5 separate regions of the Homo sapiens genome follow, and all the other regions are linked to region 1. The links are contacts of gene promoters, found by promoter capture Hi-C in blood cells and fetal thymus (Javierre and others, 2016). All regions are on one chromosome and are shown on one strand. Each heading gives the region's core, a stretch centred on a gene start or on the middle of the fragment in contact. The rest is flanking DNA. Distances are from core to core; before and after follow the strand shown. Region 1 holds the start of KCTD15 (potassium channel tetramerization domain containing 15). Region 2 holds the start of LSM14A (LSM14A mRNA processing body assembly factor). Region 3 overlaps PEPD (peptidase D). Region 4 has its middle 90 kb from the start of LSM14A. Region 5 has its middle 66 kb from the start of LSM14A.

The links. The method cuts DNA at HindIII sites, captures the fragments that hold promoters and counts their contacts. A CHiCAGO score of 5 or more calls a contact.
Region 2: the fragment with the promoter of LSM14A here is called in contact with the fragment with the promoter of KCTD15 in region 1 in 4 of 17 cell types (erythroblasts, endothelial precursors, monocytes and 1 more); the score reaches 8.8 in erythroblasts.
Region 3: a fragment that was not itself captured here is called in contact with the fragment with the promoter of KCTD15 in region 1 in 3 of 17 cell types (megakaryocytes, endothelial precursors and naive CD4 T cells); the score reaches 6.8 in megakaryocytes.
Region 4: a contact is called between a fragment that was not itself captured here and the fragment with the promoter of KCTD15 in region 1, in 1 of 17 cell types (endothelial precursors). The highest score is 5.1, in endothelial precursors.
Region 5: a contact is called between a fragment that was not itself captured here and the fragment with the promoter of KCTD15 in region 1, in 8 of 17 cell types (naive B cells, total B cells, megakaryocytes and 5 more). The highest score is 8.2, in naive B cells.

Annotation. Positions count from the first base shown.
Region 1 is chr19:33,795,585-33,798,348 of GRCh38, forward strand. It overlaps KCTD15 (potassium channel tetramerization domain containing 15), which reads left to right and starts at 1,286. Exons shown (of 7, transcript NM_001129994.2): 1 at 1,286-1,403. The HindIII fragment of the contact is 5,196 bases long and covers 1-2,153 here.
Region 2 is chr19:34,170,850-34,173,770 of GRCh38, forward strand. LSM14A (LSM14A mRNA processing body assembly factor) reads left to right here and starts at 1,655. Exons shown (of 10, transcript NM_015578.4): 1 at 1,655-1,914. The coding sequence starts at 1,794. The HindIII fragment of the contact is 4,496 bases long and covers 1-2,595 here.
Region 3 is chr19:33,415,093-33,418,140 of GRCh38, forward strand. The region is part of intron 9 of PEPD (peptidase D); the gene reads right to left. Among named protein-coding and RNA genes, the nearest start is that of CEBPG, 43 kb to the left of the region's middle. RefSeq lists an enhancer at 1,243-1,392. The HindIII fragment of the contact is 1,710 bases long and covers 500-2,209 here.
Region 4 is chr19:34,081,459-34,084,158 of GRCh38, forward strand. No RefSeq gene overlaps it. Among named protein-coding and RNA genes, the nearest start is that of LSM14A, 90 kb to the right of the region's middle. The HindIII fragment of the contact is 593 bases long and covers 998-1,590 here.
Region 5 is chr19:34,105,430-34,108,446 of GRCh38, forward strand. No RefSeq gene overlaps it. Among named protein-coding and RNA genes, the nearest start is that of LSM14A, 66 kb to the right of the region's middle. The HindIII fragment of the contact is 2,472 bases long and covers 467-2,938 here.

The sequences.
Region 1 (2,764 bases), core at 36-2,535:
GGCGCAGTGCCGGCCAGTCGCGCGCTCCGTTTCCTAGGAGCCGGGAAATGGTCGCCGAGGAGGAGGAGGAGGCACGGGCGGGGCGCAAAGGAAACAGGAGGAAGAGGAAGGGGAGGAGGAGTGGGAGTGGGAGAAAAGGAGGAAGGGGCGGCCGAAGCGGAGACTGGGGAGGGGCGTCCGGGGCGCGGACCTCGGCCGCGGGGAGTCTTGGCTGCCGCCGTCTCCATCGCGCCGCGCGCGTAAAGGAAATGGCGCGTCTAGCCGCGAGCGGTCGGCCCGGTGCCCCAGCGCGTCCCTCCCCCGCGGCGGCCGACCGCGTGTCCGCAGACGTCACGGGAGAGGGGCAGCGGGGCAGAGACCCTGGGAGGGCGGCCAGGGAGCGGGGGAGGGGCGGCCTGGCCCCCGGCTCCGCTCCAGCCCCGACCGACTGGCAGCCCAGTTTCTTCCCAAGTCCCGCCCCCAGCCCCGGGCGCCGCGGCGGCGGCTGCTCTCCTCTTTGTAACCGAGGAGTCAAGAAATGTGAGAAACGTGCCCTGTGTTACTTATTTGGGAGCCGAAAATTTATGCCCAGCTGAAAGCGCCCGGGGAAATATTACATCAGATGAAATGACAATGATTAAAATCAGCCTCTCCCCCGCCCCCTCCCCGAGCCCGGAGGAGGCCCGGGCGCCGCGTGGCCGGCCGGCGGGGGGCGGGGGGCTGGGCCGCGGAGGGCGCTGGGGCCTGGGCGCACCGCTCCCGGGAGGGTCCTGGCCGCGGCCCCGGCGGGAAGGCGCGGGCTTCGGGAGAGGCGGGTGGGGATCGCCCGGCGAAAGGAGGGGAAACGGCGCGTTTTTGTCGCCAGGCGCGGGCGCGCGGAGCTAATTGCGACTCTAATCCTCTGCCCCGCGGCGCAGCCGAGCCCCGAGCCAGGAGTCGCCGCGCGCGCCCGTTCGCGCTGGGTAATTTGGGGCCGGATCGCTGCCCTTTACGTCCGGGCTGGGCCGCGGCGAGGCGCTGGCTAGGGGCTGGAGTGGGGGGCTGGTTTTCTCTCCAGCAATCGAGGGAGGCCGCCGGAGAGAGAGGAGGGAGGAGAGGAGGTGGGAGCGGCGGGAGGGCAGCCGGAGAGCGGCGCGAGGAGGAGGCGGCGGCGGCGGAGGCGGCGGCCGCGAAGAGGGGAGGAGGCGAGGGGAGGGTGGGGAGGGGAGGCCCCGGCGCGCCGCGCCGCGAGGGGCCGCGTGAAGCGGGGGCCGGGGCGGGAGGGGTGGGTGGGGGGAGGGTTGGGGGCGAGAGAGAAAGTAACTCCAGGACGAGACCGGAGCGACCCGCGCAGCGAGCATAGGCGGCGAAGCTGCGCCCGGCGCCCGAGACCGGCAGCTGCGTGGGGCGGGGGCTGCGCCCGAGCCCGATCTGCCGGCTCCGAGGTAAGCTCAGCGCGGGCGGCCACCGCTCAGAGCCGCGCAACCCTGCCCCGAAGTGGCTGCGATACCGAGAAAGTCGCCCGGCCAGGGTCTGGACCTGGGCGGGGGCGGCCGCTTTGTCCCTCTGCTGGGCGGCGGGGGCTGGCGGCGCGGGGGTGCCCAGCACAAAGGCCTGGTGCAAGAGTGGGGTTGCCCACGTGGGCTGGTCCTGGCCGCGGGTGGACCCTCCCCACGCGGGCGGTCTCGGAGCTTCCTGCCGCGCGGTGTGTGTGTGTGTGTGTGTGTGTGTGTGTGTGTGTGCGCGCGCGCGCGCGCGCGCTTGTGGAGGTCCCCGCACTCTGGCCCCTGTTCTGGGCCGAGCGCCCTGCAGAGCTGGCGAGTTTCCGGGGTCAGAAACGGGCTCACGCAACTGGGGCTTCGGGATGCACAAGTCCCGGCTTGGCGCCCAAAATCAGAGAAAGTCTCCAGTGGGACAGATGTGCGTCCTCTGACGCCCACCCCACGAGTCCGAAACCTGGCAGGAGGGGCTGTCGCGCTGGTGGTGGTCCCGGGCGCGCAGGGTTTGGGGCTGGGAGAGGGGCCGCGATGGGAGGGATCGCCGCCTGCAGATCCGGTTCCCCGCTGCCCGCCCGCACCCCCTGACCTGGACGCGCGCACCCGGCACACACTCGCAAACACACCCGGGGGCGGACCCCCGCCTCTGCAGCGCCTTTCTGTCTTCCGGCGGCCCCCACCCGCGACTGCAGAAAGATAAGCTTCAAGTTTTCGCTCCGTATCTCAAATGTGCATGAAGGAATTTAACTGCACGAGTGAATAACAGCATTAGTTTCAATTAATTTTTTTTTAATCCCGGCAACAATAAACTTTGAGAACAAAAGCGCTTTTACGTCCTTAATTAGGCGAGCTTCCCATCTGTGGTCTCCAAGTGTCTGCCTCTTGATTTAACTTTGTCCCCGCCCCGCCTCCGCGGCAACCCCTCCCAGCCCAGCCCCGCGCTTCGGGTGCCGCGGCCACCCCGCCCCGCGGCGCCTCCAGCCTTGGCCCAAGCCCTCTCCCGTCGCCCCTAAGTTCACACCGGCCGGCTGGCTCCGCGGCGGAGGCGGGAGGGGGGGGGTGGGGAGGCTGGCGCGCACCAGGTGGCCCGCCTGCCTCTCCGGGGCCACCCCTGGGACAATTGTGCAGGCCCCCAGGACTTTCGCCCCGGGCCAGCGCCCTGAGTGCGGAGCCGAGGGGAGCTCGAGAGGCGCCTTCTGTTTACCTTTTATGGTTAAAATAACAGCTTAGCAAAGAAGCGACTTCAGAAGAAGCGATTTAGTGAAATCGTCTCAAGCTGCCGCAGCTCAGCCAGTTTAATCACCCCCAGA
Region 2 (2,921 bases), core at 405-2,904, 380 kb after region 1:
AACATCACTATCTCAAAATGTTTACATTCTAGTGAAGGAGACAGATACATACAAATAATTAAACAGACATACTTGAGAGAGATACATGCTATAAAGAAAATACAAGCTGAGTTAAGGAGATGAGTGGTATTATTTTAAACAAGGCTGTCAGGGACGTCATCTCTGGAGGTGATGCTTGAGCAGAGACTGGAATAAAGTGCTCAAGTACTGGTTGAATTAGACGCGACTGGAACAGAACGAGAAGCTAAATCATGTATATCCTTAGACACCAAAGTCTGGTTTTCTCTCTGTGTAACATGGGATCAGTAGAGTGAGTAGAGGAAGGACATGATCTGAGTTAGATTTTTTTTTTTTTTTTTGAGACGGAGTCTCGCTCTGTCGCCCAGGCTGGAGTGCAGTGGCACAATCTCGGCTCACCACAACCTCCGCCTCCTGGGTTCAAGCAATTCTCCTGCCTCAGCCTCCCAAGTAGCTGAGACTATAGGCGCGCGCCACCACGCCTGGCTAATTTTTTTATATTTTTAGTAGAGACGGGGTTTCACCATGTTGGCCAGGCTGGTCTCGAACTCCTGACCGGTGATGCGCCCGCCTCGGGCCCCCAAAGTACTGGGAGTACAGGCGTGAGCCACTGCGCCCAGCCCTGAGTTAGATTTTAAGAAGATCTCTCTGGCTGCTGTATTGAGAATAAAGTACTGGGGGCAAGAGTTGACACAGAGGCAACTTTTAGAAGGCTACTGCAATAATTCAGCCCGAGTAATCGTGGCTTGTGGGAGAAGTGTAGGAATGGAGATGAGAAGTCAGATTTAGGATATATTGTGTATACATAACGGAGAGGTGTAGTCAGAACAGATGTGGAAGCAAGACAGGGCAAGGCTGACTCACGGCTTTTAGTCTGAGCAGCTGAGTAAAAATGGTACCGTTTACATCAAATAGGGAACGGTGGTGAAGGAGCAGGTTAGAGGGGAAACAGGGAGCATGGCTTTGGACCCTTAACGTTTGAGATTCGACAGAAACCCTGGTTCACGGAATTGATCCAAGCTACATACTGATAATTGGGATTAGTGAGTTACAATGGCGTTGCAAGCCATGAAACTGGTTCAGACCGGCTGAATGAGCGGGACAGGAAGGGGCTGAAACACTTGAGTCCTTGTGAGAGCCCCAGCTCCAGGGGCAGCCTCGGGGGAAGCTCCCCGGGCGATGACTGCGGTAATGGAGCCGTAGGAGCTCCACGAGGTGCAGGTTCAGCGTCTTAGAAGGATGAGCAGCGGCTCGCCACAGCTCGGAGGCGGGTGGGCAGCGCTCCAGGCCGAGGGCCCCGCGTCGGCAAAGACACAGGACCCACGACAAGGCGGCCACGGCCTGAGTCAAAAGGAAGGCCGCGCGCCTCCTCTCCAGCCCGCAGCAAGCGGGTGCCACGAGGCACTCAGCCGGTCCCCGAAGTTCCTCTCACGCGGCCCCAAGACCACCACCGTAGTCCAGGCCAACAAGCGCTGCCGGGACTCCCGAGGCCACGAATGAGCCGGGAGCCACCAGTAGCCGGCCAAGTCTCGCGAGAGCGCGGCCTCGCCCTCCCAGCATGCCCCGCGCCGCCGCCGCTGCCGCCGCCGCCGCCGCCGCCGCGCCGCGGCTTGAGGGCGGGAGGCTGGGGGAGGGTAGCGGAGCCGGCGCCGCCGCCATGTTGGGTCTGAAGCGGCTGCTGTAGGCGCCGACGGAGCGAGCGGGCGTGCGGAGCGGGCGACAGTGGCGTGGGATCTGCCTCTCTGCGAGCAGCTGGGAGCGGCGGCGGCGGCGCCATGAGCGGGGGCACCCCTTACATCGGCAGCAAGATCAGCCTCATCTCCAAGGCGGAGATCCGCTACGAGGGCATCCTCTACACCATCGACACCGAAAACTCCACCGTAGCCCTTGCCAAAGGTACGCGGGACCGGGCCTCAGGGTGGGGGCCGAGCCGGGCGCCGCTCGGGGCTGCTCCCCGCTCCGGCCCGCGGCCTCCTCGTTCCCTCCCCTCCCTCCGTCGAGCTCCGGGAGGCCTCTCGCCTCCCTTCTCCGGGCCCCGGCGTCGCGGGCCGGACCGCGGCCTCCCCGCGGCTCCCTGGTTTCCGCCCCCCGGAATGTCCGCGCCTGAAGCCCGGGGAACTACGGGACTGAGTGCGCGGCGGGCGGCCCTGAAGTCCGAGAACGGGCCGGAGAACACGGAGAAACGCGTCTTCCAACTCCGAAATTCGGGGCTTCTGCCGTCTTAGCACAAAACAAAGCCGGAGTATTCAAAGAATTTTTCCGCCCAGCTTGAGTTCATCGCGGATGCGTTGACTACACAGCACCCATTTTCTCACTTTGTTCATTTCAATTCGTGGCGATCTTCCTCTGGTGAACTCTTGAGTAATGTGCTAAAACTTTGGGTTTGCTCTGCGACGCAGACATTCTCGAAATGCCATCGATGCCGTGGAGCAGATCCCATCTCCCTCGGCTCATCCTCTGTTGGTATTTACCTGTTAAACCGGAATCCTCAAAGCCTGTTGTGCAACCACCTCATTAGGGCGCGTGGTAAAAATGCTTGCTGCTGCCCCGACGCCCCTGTTTCTGGAAACGGGTTCAAGCTTGATCCAGGATCCTTCTTGACCAGGCAAGCTTGACCTTTGATCCAGGCTCAGTGGGCGTTGACTGATCCCTCTGGAGGCTCTCTGGGAAAGGGAATTCGGCCGAGAAGGAAGGTGCCCCTACCCACAGTGTTAATATTTGGCATCCCTAGAGTCTGTGTGGGTTTTGTTTCCGTTCACACGTGCAGGGCCTTTGCTCCGCCAGGAAACCAGAAAGAAAATAAACTTTAGCTCCTGAATCTTAAAGGAAATCTCACAACAGTGTAAAATACTTTGAGGGAAGCTAGATAACCTAGGTGATTTTCCCAGCACTTCTGGTAGAGG
Region 3 (3,048 bases), core at 105-2,604, 380 kb before region 1:
CTTCACACCTCTGTGGCGCCCTCCCAGAAAGCCCGAGAAGAGGCCTGACCCACGCCGTGGAACAGGGGTGCTCCCTTGGCTTTGTGAGATGTGGTCCTGCACCAACAGAAGCGAACCTCAGAGGTCACATGGTCATTCTCGACGTGATGGCGACAGCGGACCTCTGTGGGACAAGTGACCTGCAGACAACCACGGGCTGCGCTGGGACTGGCCGGCTTCAGAAAAGACAGGCAGAGGGACAGAGATGCCATCCGCATGTGCAGAGGAACTCACATATTCTACAAGAAAGGAGCGGCAGGCCGGGCGCAGTGGCTCACACTTGTCATCCCAGCACTTTGGGAGGCCAAGGTTGGAGGACTGCTTGAGGCCGGGAGTTCAAGACCAGCCTGGGCAACACAGCAAGACCCCAGCTCTCAAAAAATCAATCAATCAATCAATACAAGAAAAAAACATCAGAAAGGGGAGGCAGTGAGGAAACTTGGCTCTCTCGCCTGCAGCAAGCTTCCCCCTGCATAACCCACTCAGTGGAGACAACTGTCTTTGAATGCCTTTGCTGCTTTTTAAGAAAAAAATAGTGCCTTCAAGAAGGCACAGCTCACAGAAGCATCAAACTAAAGAAAGGCTGACCCAGTTTTCACCTGCAAAGTGCAGCCCGACACTGGTCACCTTTGCCGGCCACGTTGACAACTCCACACACTGTTCCATAGGAAGGAGTTGAAAAGAGGAGGAGCACCACGTGCTGGATATTCACGCCCGCCTAAAAAAAGCTGAAATGCTTCACAGTGGACTTCAGTCCTGAATTTTGTTTTAAATGACCTTTTCTGACGCAACTTGAGGACACACTGGTGCTTTGGTGGCAATAACAGGTGGGCAAAACGAGCCCACGTTTTCTGCAGACTTTAGGCTTGGGGTGTGGACGCACAAGGGCACCCAAGTTCTGGGCAGCTGTGGCGGCACAGGGGGCCTGTGGAAGCGTGTGAGCCCGGCGCGGCACAGTTCTGATCTTCAAGCGGTGAGCACTGAGGGGTGGACATTCCAAACTGGGGCCCATGCTTGATGCGGACGCAACGTGTGCCCCCGCACAGCTGGGCCAGAGCTTGGCGAGTGGTGCTGGGATGACCAGGAGCAAGTGTGGGCTATGAGGACAGGCTAACAGCCTGTCCCGTGGATGACCGACATGCCATGGCAGTGGCAGCATCACAACTCCTCCAAGTGCGAGGCAGGAGGGGTCCAGCCAAGTCATCCCTGGAGCAGGCTAGCTACTACCCACCCAAAATAATTAACACCTGGAACAGGCTCTCCAGCAGAGGGCAGCAGCCAGCAAGACAGGCAGGAGTGTCACCGCCCCACTGCGACCATCTCCATAGGCTCCTTCCATAAATTTATGACTCACATCGTGCAGCCCCGGACCAGCTGGGTCTAACAGCCCCTGCTCCCTCCTGCTCACCTGGAAGGCGGATGGGGTGGTACACACACCCCAGCCAGGCTCAAGCCCAGCGCGCACCTCCTCCCCAGCAGCAGGGAGGGGCTTCCTGATTGGCTGAGAGGAGGCCGTGGTCTGCCTAAGTCCCAGCCAACGACATCCCGGCTGCTGTGTGGGCCCCGTTGTTTTTCCTTATGTGGCCATTCCTCTAACACCCTCACCTATAAATTTCTCCCAGGCAAGACTCGGGTAGAAGAGGCTTGTATCCAGGCATAAGTGAGAGAGCCCTTAAGCAACCTGGGGGAACTGCATGAGTGGTGAATAACGAGGTGGATGGAGTTACTGCAGTGTCAGTGGGGCAGGCACATCTGTCAGTGCCAGGAGATGACAAATGGGGCAGGAGCAGCAAGTTCCCAGACCCAGATCTGCAGGAATGGGGTCCCCAGAGACGGCGTCGCTGGGCCTCCCACTGGGACCCACAAATCCAGCCCGTGGAGCGCTCCCGGGCACACGGCCCAGCTCCTGCCCTCAGAAGTTTATCACCTAACATGAAGACGAGTCACAGTCCTATAAAAATGCTGCAGCTGCCCAGACAGCGGTAGAAGGGCTGCCTGGCAGCAAGTGTCGGCCAAGCTATGTGCCTCGAGCATGGGTGGGGTAGCGCCGAAGAGGTTAGTGAGGCAGTGTAAGGGGTGGCCCTGGCCACATCATTCCCTTTCCCCGGCTGGGCCTCAATGGATCTCAGGTACTCAAGAGGTGGAGAGGGGAGGCTGGGCCGGAAACAGAAGCTTGGGAGTGAAAATGCGCAGAGCTGGTGGAGCCCCCTCAGCTGGGCAGAGGGCTTAGGAAAGCAGGTAGTTGGGACATGGGGTTACAAACCTGAGGTGGGGAGGGTGTGTTCCGCACCCCGGTCCCTGTGCTGGGCTCCCTGCTCTGGGCCCCACATACCCAGCCTTCTGGGACTCAACACCAACCTCAAGGGCAAATCTTGGCTCTGCTGCTGGCCAGCTGAATGGCCTCTCCGTGCCTCAGTTTCCTCATCTGTAAAATGGGGATGATAGCGGTGCCTCCCTCCCAGGGCTGCTATGCCAGTCGAATGATTTAACATACATGGAGTATACACAATGGTGCCTGGTACCCAAGGAGCTCTGTGTACAGTGACCTAGCCATCGTGGTCACTGTTCAGAGGCCTGGAGGGAGGCTGGAGAATGGGGATCCCTCCTCAGGCAGCAGGAGAGGAGGTCGTGGGCATCCTGTGCCAGGCTTTGAGAAACAGCCTCTTGACTATTCCTTTAAAACCAAACAGAATCTGCATAGGTCCACGGCCCGGACACCCACTCCCGCACCCTCCAGGCAGCCAAGTTCTCTACAGAAGTCCTTCCTGGGCCCACACACTCCCAGCATCTCCAGGATGTTCACCAGCAAAAACGCGGAGGTGTGTCCTCTGCACCAGCTACCGGGACACGTGCGCACAGACAGGCTTCTGGCTGGACAGAGGGGGCCTGTGCCCACCATCCCTTCACAGCTGCCCCTCGCCCTCACGGAGCTGACCCAGGGTCCCCGCCTTCCCGGGGTGCGCCCAGGACTGGGGCACATAAGAGGGAGAGAGCCACAGAGAGTGAGAA
Region 4 (2,700 bases), core at 44-2,543, 290 kb after region 1:
ATTGCCATTCTCCTAAAGACCTGATGAGTTATGAGTCTTAAATTTAAATTTGTTTTAGAAAATCATGTCTCATTGCTCCCATACACTTGTGCCAGATGAAGTGAATAGCAAATTATTCCCCAAAGGACATGGACAGACAAAGACAGACAGACAGACACGCATAAACTCACACAGACACTCCTTTACAGCCATGACAAATATAGCTGCATTGTTAAAATGTCACCAATTTTTTTTTTTTTTTTTGAGACAGAGTCTCACTCTGTCACCCAGGCTGGAGTGCAGTGGCATGATCTTGGCTCACTGCAACCTCTGTCTCTTGGGTGCAAGTAATTCTCCTACCTCAACCTCCCAAGTACCTGGGATTACAGGCGCCCACCATCACACCCAGCTAATTTTTGCATTTTTAGTAGAGACAGGGTTTCACCACGTTGGCCAGGCTGGTCTCGAACTCCTGACCTCAGGTGATTGGCCCGCCTCAGCCTCCCAAAGTGCCGGGATTACAGGGGTGAGCCACTGCACCTGGCCAATGATACCAATCTTTTAAGGCTCCACCTTCAATGCTCCCTGGTCCACAATTTCTCAAACTAGATGCTTTCACTGATAAGTTTTCTGGCATTCTCTTTATTCTACATTTGTTCCTTGAGCTCCTGAGAACAGGAACCAGATTTTACTTCACATTGGGTCGTGCCATGCCTTCCCAACACTGACAGTTTGGAAAAAGCAGATTCTCAACAGATTACTATTGGGGACCCTTTAAGCCAATGTGCCAATTCATCAAATTAGTTTGGTTTTTCTACCCAAGCAGAACTCACACTTCTACAATATATGTTTCTTCACTAAAGAATAAAGAGCCGGTTAAGAGAATTCATTTCTTTGGCCCTAAAAGCAGGCACAATGATAACTTAAACTGTTAAGAGAAATAAATCCACAGCCCTAAGCCTTGCTGTTCCTATTATAAGAGCTAAAAACCTAAGCTGTCGCCCTCAGTACCTGCCAAAGCTTCCAACTGGGCCCTGATTTGTGAAGAGCAAAGGCCTTACAGGCGTCTTGTGTGGAAGTCACCAGGTCTTCCCTACCAGCGGGGAGAAATATCTAAGCCAGCCATCCATGGCTGGGTGTTTAAATGATAAAGAAAAAAAAAAAAGAAGAACATTTTGAAAAAATCAAGTGACCAAAACTTGAGAGAATATTATGAGAATATCAAACACAATGGAGCTATTTTAAAAGAAAGCAGAAATCTGGAATAATGAAATCGGCAAGAAGAAAACACTAAGAGCAAAAATACATTTATACATAAGACAACTATTTTTCAAAATTCTTGCTCGGCTTTGGATGTTCTGTTTGCCTCCCAGCTACAAACACATTCTTCACACACGCTGGGAATGCTGCTGAAAACTAGTCAGCATTCAGAGGCTTAATCCACAGTCCCGGCGCTGTGCCTGTGGGCTTCATCGTCAGACAGCCATTTGTCCTCAGGAGAGGTTAGGGGTTGAAATGCAAATATGCAAACAACTGAGTTCTTGCCCTAAAATAGCTGAGAAAAGCATGATCCCTTATGCTATCTTTTAAAAATGGAAAAAGAAGAAAAAAAGCTTACAATCTTAAGGATTTGTTTAAATACCTTAGTATGTTGCAATTTTGAAGGAGAAAATGATGGAAAGGAAGAAACACACTTGTCCTGGGTAAAATCTATAATCTGGAGAAAAGGTTGACATACGTGTGACACTTGATTTACCAGACCCACTAAAGATTTATTGATTTATCAATCACTGCCTCAGGCACTTGATTTCCCCCAAGGGAGAATTAACAATTCCCGCCAACTGATGGATTCTATTGTGAACTAAAATGAATGCAAGAATCTATCCTCTCCCTGTGCACAACCTCCAATTACCAAACAAACAAAAAAAAAGTGTATCTCTCTGTTTGGGGAATCCTTAAAATCCTTAAAATTAAAAATTATTTAACAAAAGAAATACTGTATTAAGTAATTGTCACTGGGCCGGGCGCAGTGGCTCACGCCTGTAATCCCAGCACTTGGGGAGGCTGAGGCGATGGATCACCTGAGGTCAAGAGTTCGAGACCAGTCAGGCCAGCCAGGCAAAACCATGTCTCTACTAAAAATACAATAATTAGCTGGGCATGGTGGCGGGTGCCTATAATCCCAGCTACTCAGGTGGCTAAGGCAGGAGAACCACTTAAACCCAGGAGGCAGAGGTTGCAGTGAGCTGAAGTTGTGCCACTGCACTCCAGTCTGGGCAACAAAGCGAGACTCCATCTCAAGAAAAAAAAATCACCCTTGATGCCAATAGACATTTTTAAAGGATGACTTTAACAAGCTCTAAAGGAGATACGGGCATCACAGAAATGTGATTTCATAACGTGGATAGGAACATGATCTTTTATGTTAAATTACCAGGATTGACTGTAGCCTCCACCACTTACGAGATGTGTTATCTTGGGCTTCTTTAAGCCTCAGTTTCACCATCTATAAAATGAGGAGATACACTTGTCCTTAGGAAAATGAGTAGTGAGGATGAATAGAATGCATCTGGCCTAGCCTCTGACATGCAGTCAGCCTTCCATCTGGCAGTTCCATTCCCATTACTGTCACTCTAAAATCATATGAAGTATAACACTATGGAAGGCCACACAGACAGGCTCCAGGGCTGAAACAGTTCACAGAGTATGACAAAGCGCCCT
Region 5 (3,017 bases), core at 453-2,952, 310 kb after region 1:
CCCAACTAATTTTTCTATTTTTTGTAGAGATGGGTTCTTGCCATGTAACCTGGGCTGGTCTCAAACTCCTGAGCTCAAGTGATCTGTCCACCTTGGCCTCCCAAAGTGCTAGGATTACAGGCGTGAGCCAGTTTCTAAAAGCTTTAAAATGGCCGGGCTCAGTGGCTCACACCTATAATCCCAACACTTTGGGAGGCCAAGGTAGGAGGAACACTTGAGCCCAGGAGTTTGAAAACAGGCTAGGCAACATGGCAAGACCCTGTCTCTACAAAAAATTAAAAAGAATTAGATGGGCATGGTGGTGCGGACTTGTGGTCCCCACTACTCAGGAGGCTGAGGTGGGAGGATAGCTTGAGCCCAGGAGGTCGAGGCTGCAGTGAGCTATGATCCTACCACTGCACTCCAGCCTAAGTGACAGAGCAAGACCCTGTATAAAAAAAAGAAAAGAAAAAAGAGTAATTTTTAAAGCTTGGAATCCTTCATGGTAAGAAAAAACTAGCATTTATTAAGTGCCTACTAAAAATCAAGCACTGTTTTATACGTAGTGCCATACTTTGTACTTAACCCTCATAACCACCACACAAGTTATGCATTATGAAAACTAGTTTATATACTGCAACTCAAAGAAGCTAAGTGATTTTCCCAAAGACATAACAGCTGGCAAATGACAGAATTAGGACTTGAATTCACATCTTCCTACACCAACGCCTATATTGCCCAGCATATAACACCCACCCAGTAAATGTTTGAAGAACAAATGTTTAAAAGCCTTAATTTCAAAGGTCTATGAACTGGCTGAGTGTGGTGGCTCATGCCTGTAATTCTAACACTTTGAGAGGCCAAGGTGGGCGGATCAATTGAGGTCAGGAGTTCAAGACCAGCCTGGCCAACATGGTGAAATCCCGTCTCTACTAAAAATACAAAAATTAGCCAGGCTAGGATGGGCACGGTGGCTCACGCCTGTAATCCTAGCACTTTGGGAGGCCGAGGCGGGCGGATCATGAGGTCAGGAGATGGAGACCATCCCGGCTAACAAGGTGAAACCCCATCTCTACTAAAAATACAAAAATTAGCCAGGCATGGTGGCGGCGCCTATAGTCTCAGCTACTCAGGAGGCTGAGGCAGGAGAATGGCTTGAACCCGGGAGGCTGAGCTTGCAGTGAGCCAAGATCGCGCCACTGCACTGCAGCCTGGGCAACAGAACAAGACTCTGTCTCAAAAAAAAAAATTAGCCAGGCTAATTTTTGTTGTGGCGGGCACCTGTAATCCCATCTACTCAGGAGGCTGAGGCAGGAGAATAGCTTGAACCTGGTAGGCAGAGGTTTCAGTGAGCAGAGATTGTGCCACCGCACTCCAGGCTGGGTGACAGAGCAAGACTCCATCTCAAAAAAAAAAAAAGTCTATAAACCAAGACTACCAAATAACTGCCATGAATTCAGTTAGTTATACATAAAGACAAAAAAAAATGTCTAATACCACACCCACACATATATTTAGCTTCAATTTTTTTTTTTTTTAATTTAAGACGCGGTCTTGCTCTGCTGCCCAGTGCAGTGGTACAATTTCAGCTCACTACAGCCTTGACCTCCTGGACTCAAGTGATCCTCCTGCCTCAGCCCTGCAAGTAGCTGAGACTACAGGCGCACAACACTATGCCTGCTAATTTTTTTTATTTTTTGTAGAGACAAGATCTCACCATGTTGCTCAGACTGGTCTCGAATGCCTGGACTCAAGCGATCCGCCCGCCCTCAGCCTCCCAAGTGCTGGGATTACAGGGTGAGCCACCGCACTCGGCCCAAATATTTGTGAACACATTTAAACTCGGTACTTTTACCACTTGATCCTGAGTCATACTTTCAGAATAAAATCATACATCACGACTGAGAGTCAATCCCCATAAAATGGCTCTGCGAAAGGAAAACATGGCCCTTGAATTAACAAGAGCTGTTTATGAAGCCCAAACAAGATGGACAAAAAAAGAGGTGTTGTGAACCAAAGAGTTCTCCTAAACTTCTCTCACCTGTGTTCCCTGAGAATAAAAAAGGGACAATCTTTTTTTTTTTTTGAGATGGGGTCTCGCTCTGTCGCCCAGGCTGGAGTGCAGTGGCGCCATCTCTGCTCACTGCAACCTCCGCCTCCCAGGTTCGTGATTCTCCTGCCTCAGCCTCCCAAGCAGCTGGGATTACAGGCTGTGCACCACCACACTCGCATAACTTTTGTATTTTTAGTAGAGATGGGGTTTCACCATGTTGGCCAGGCTGGTCGTGAACTCCTGACCTCAGGTGATCCGCCCACCTTAGCCTTCCAAAGTGCTGGGATTACAGGCGTGAGCCACCACGCCTGGCTCCAGGGACAATCTTTTTAAAACAAGGAAGTCACAAAGAGGAAAAACTGATTTGCCCCTCCAGAAGATTCACACTTGGAACCACAGAAAGGCTTCACAAAGACCATTTTCCACCCTCCAGGTGTGTAAAGGTGGGGCCACACCCCAACTCCTCCAGTGTCACCTTTACCAGCCACAGGTGTATTTCCCTCTCCCCCTCCCTGGGAACAGACCCTACAGAAGGAACTTCTTTTCCCAATGAACGAATTGCAGAGTTACAGAGTTCTGATGTTTATCTTCATTAGATACTAGAAACGAATGAACCATTTAGAATAAAACCAAACGTCAACATGATACCAAACGGTGCATCTGAACGTGTCCCTGACCTGTGACCTTAGCACACTGAAGGGTGCCAAGGCTCCAACCTGCTCTGCCCCAACCTGTTCTTCTAACTGCCCTAGGTGTGTCCACACGTGTGGTGGGGTAGGTGACTCTAAGAATTTCAGATACTTAGATTGCAAATAATATGAGATAAAGCATAATTCCTCTTAAATAAAGCAGGTGCTCTTTTTAGGAACTCTTAAGTTATTTGAGAAAAAAAAATTACAGTTACAAAGCTTCTAAAAACCATCCCCAGAGCCATAAGATTGTGACATCAAAAATAGTGGAGGCCAGGCATGGTGGGCTCACACCT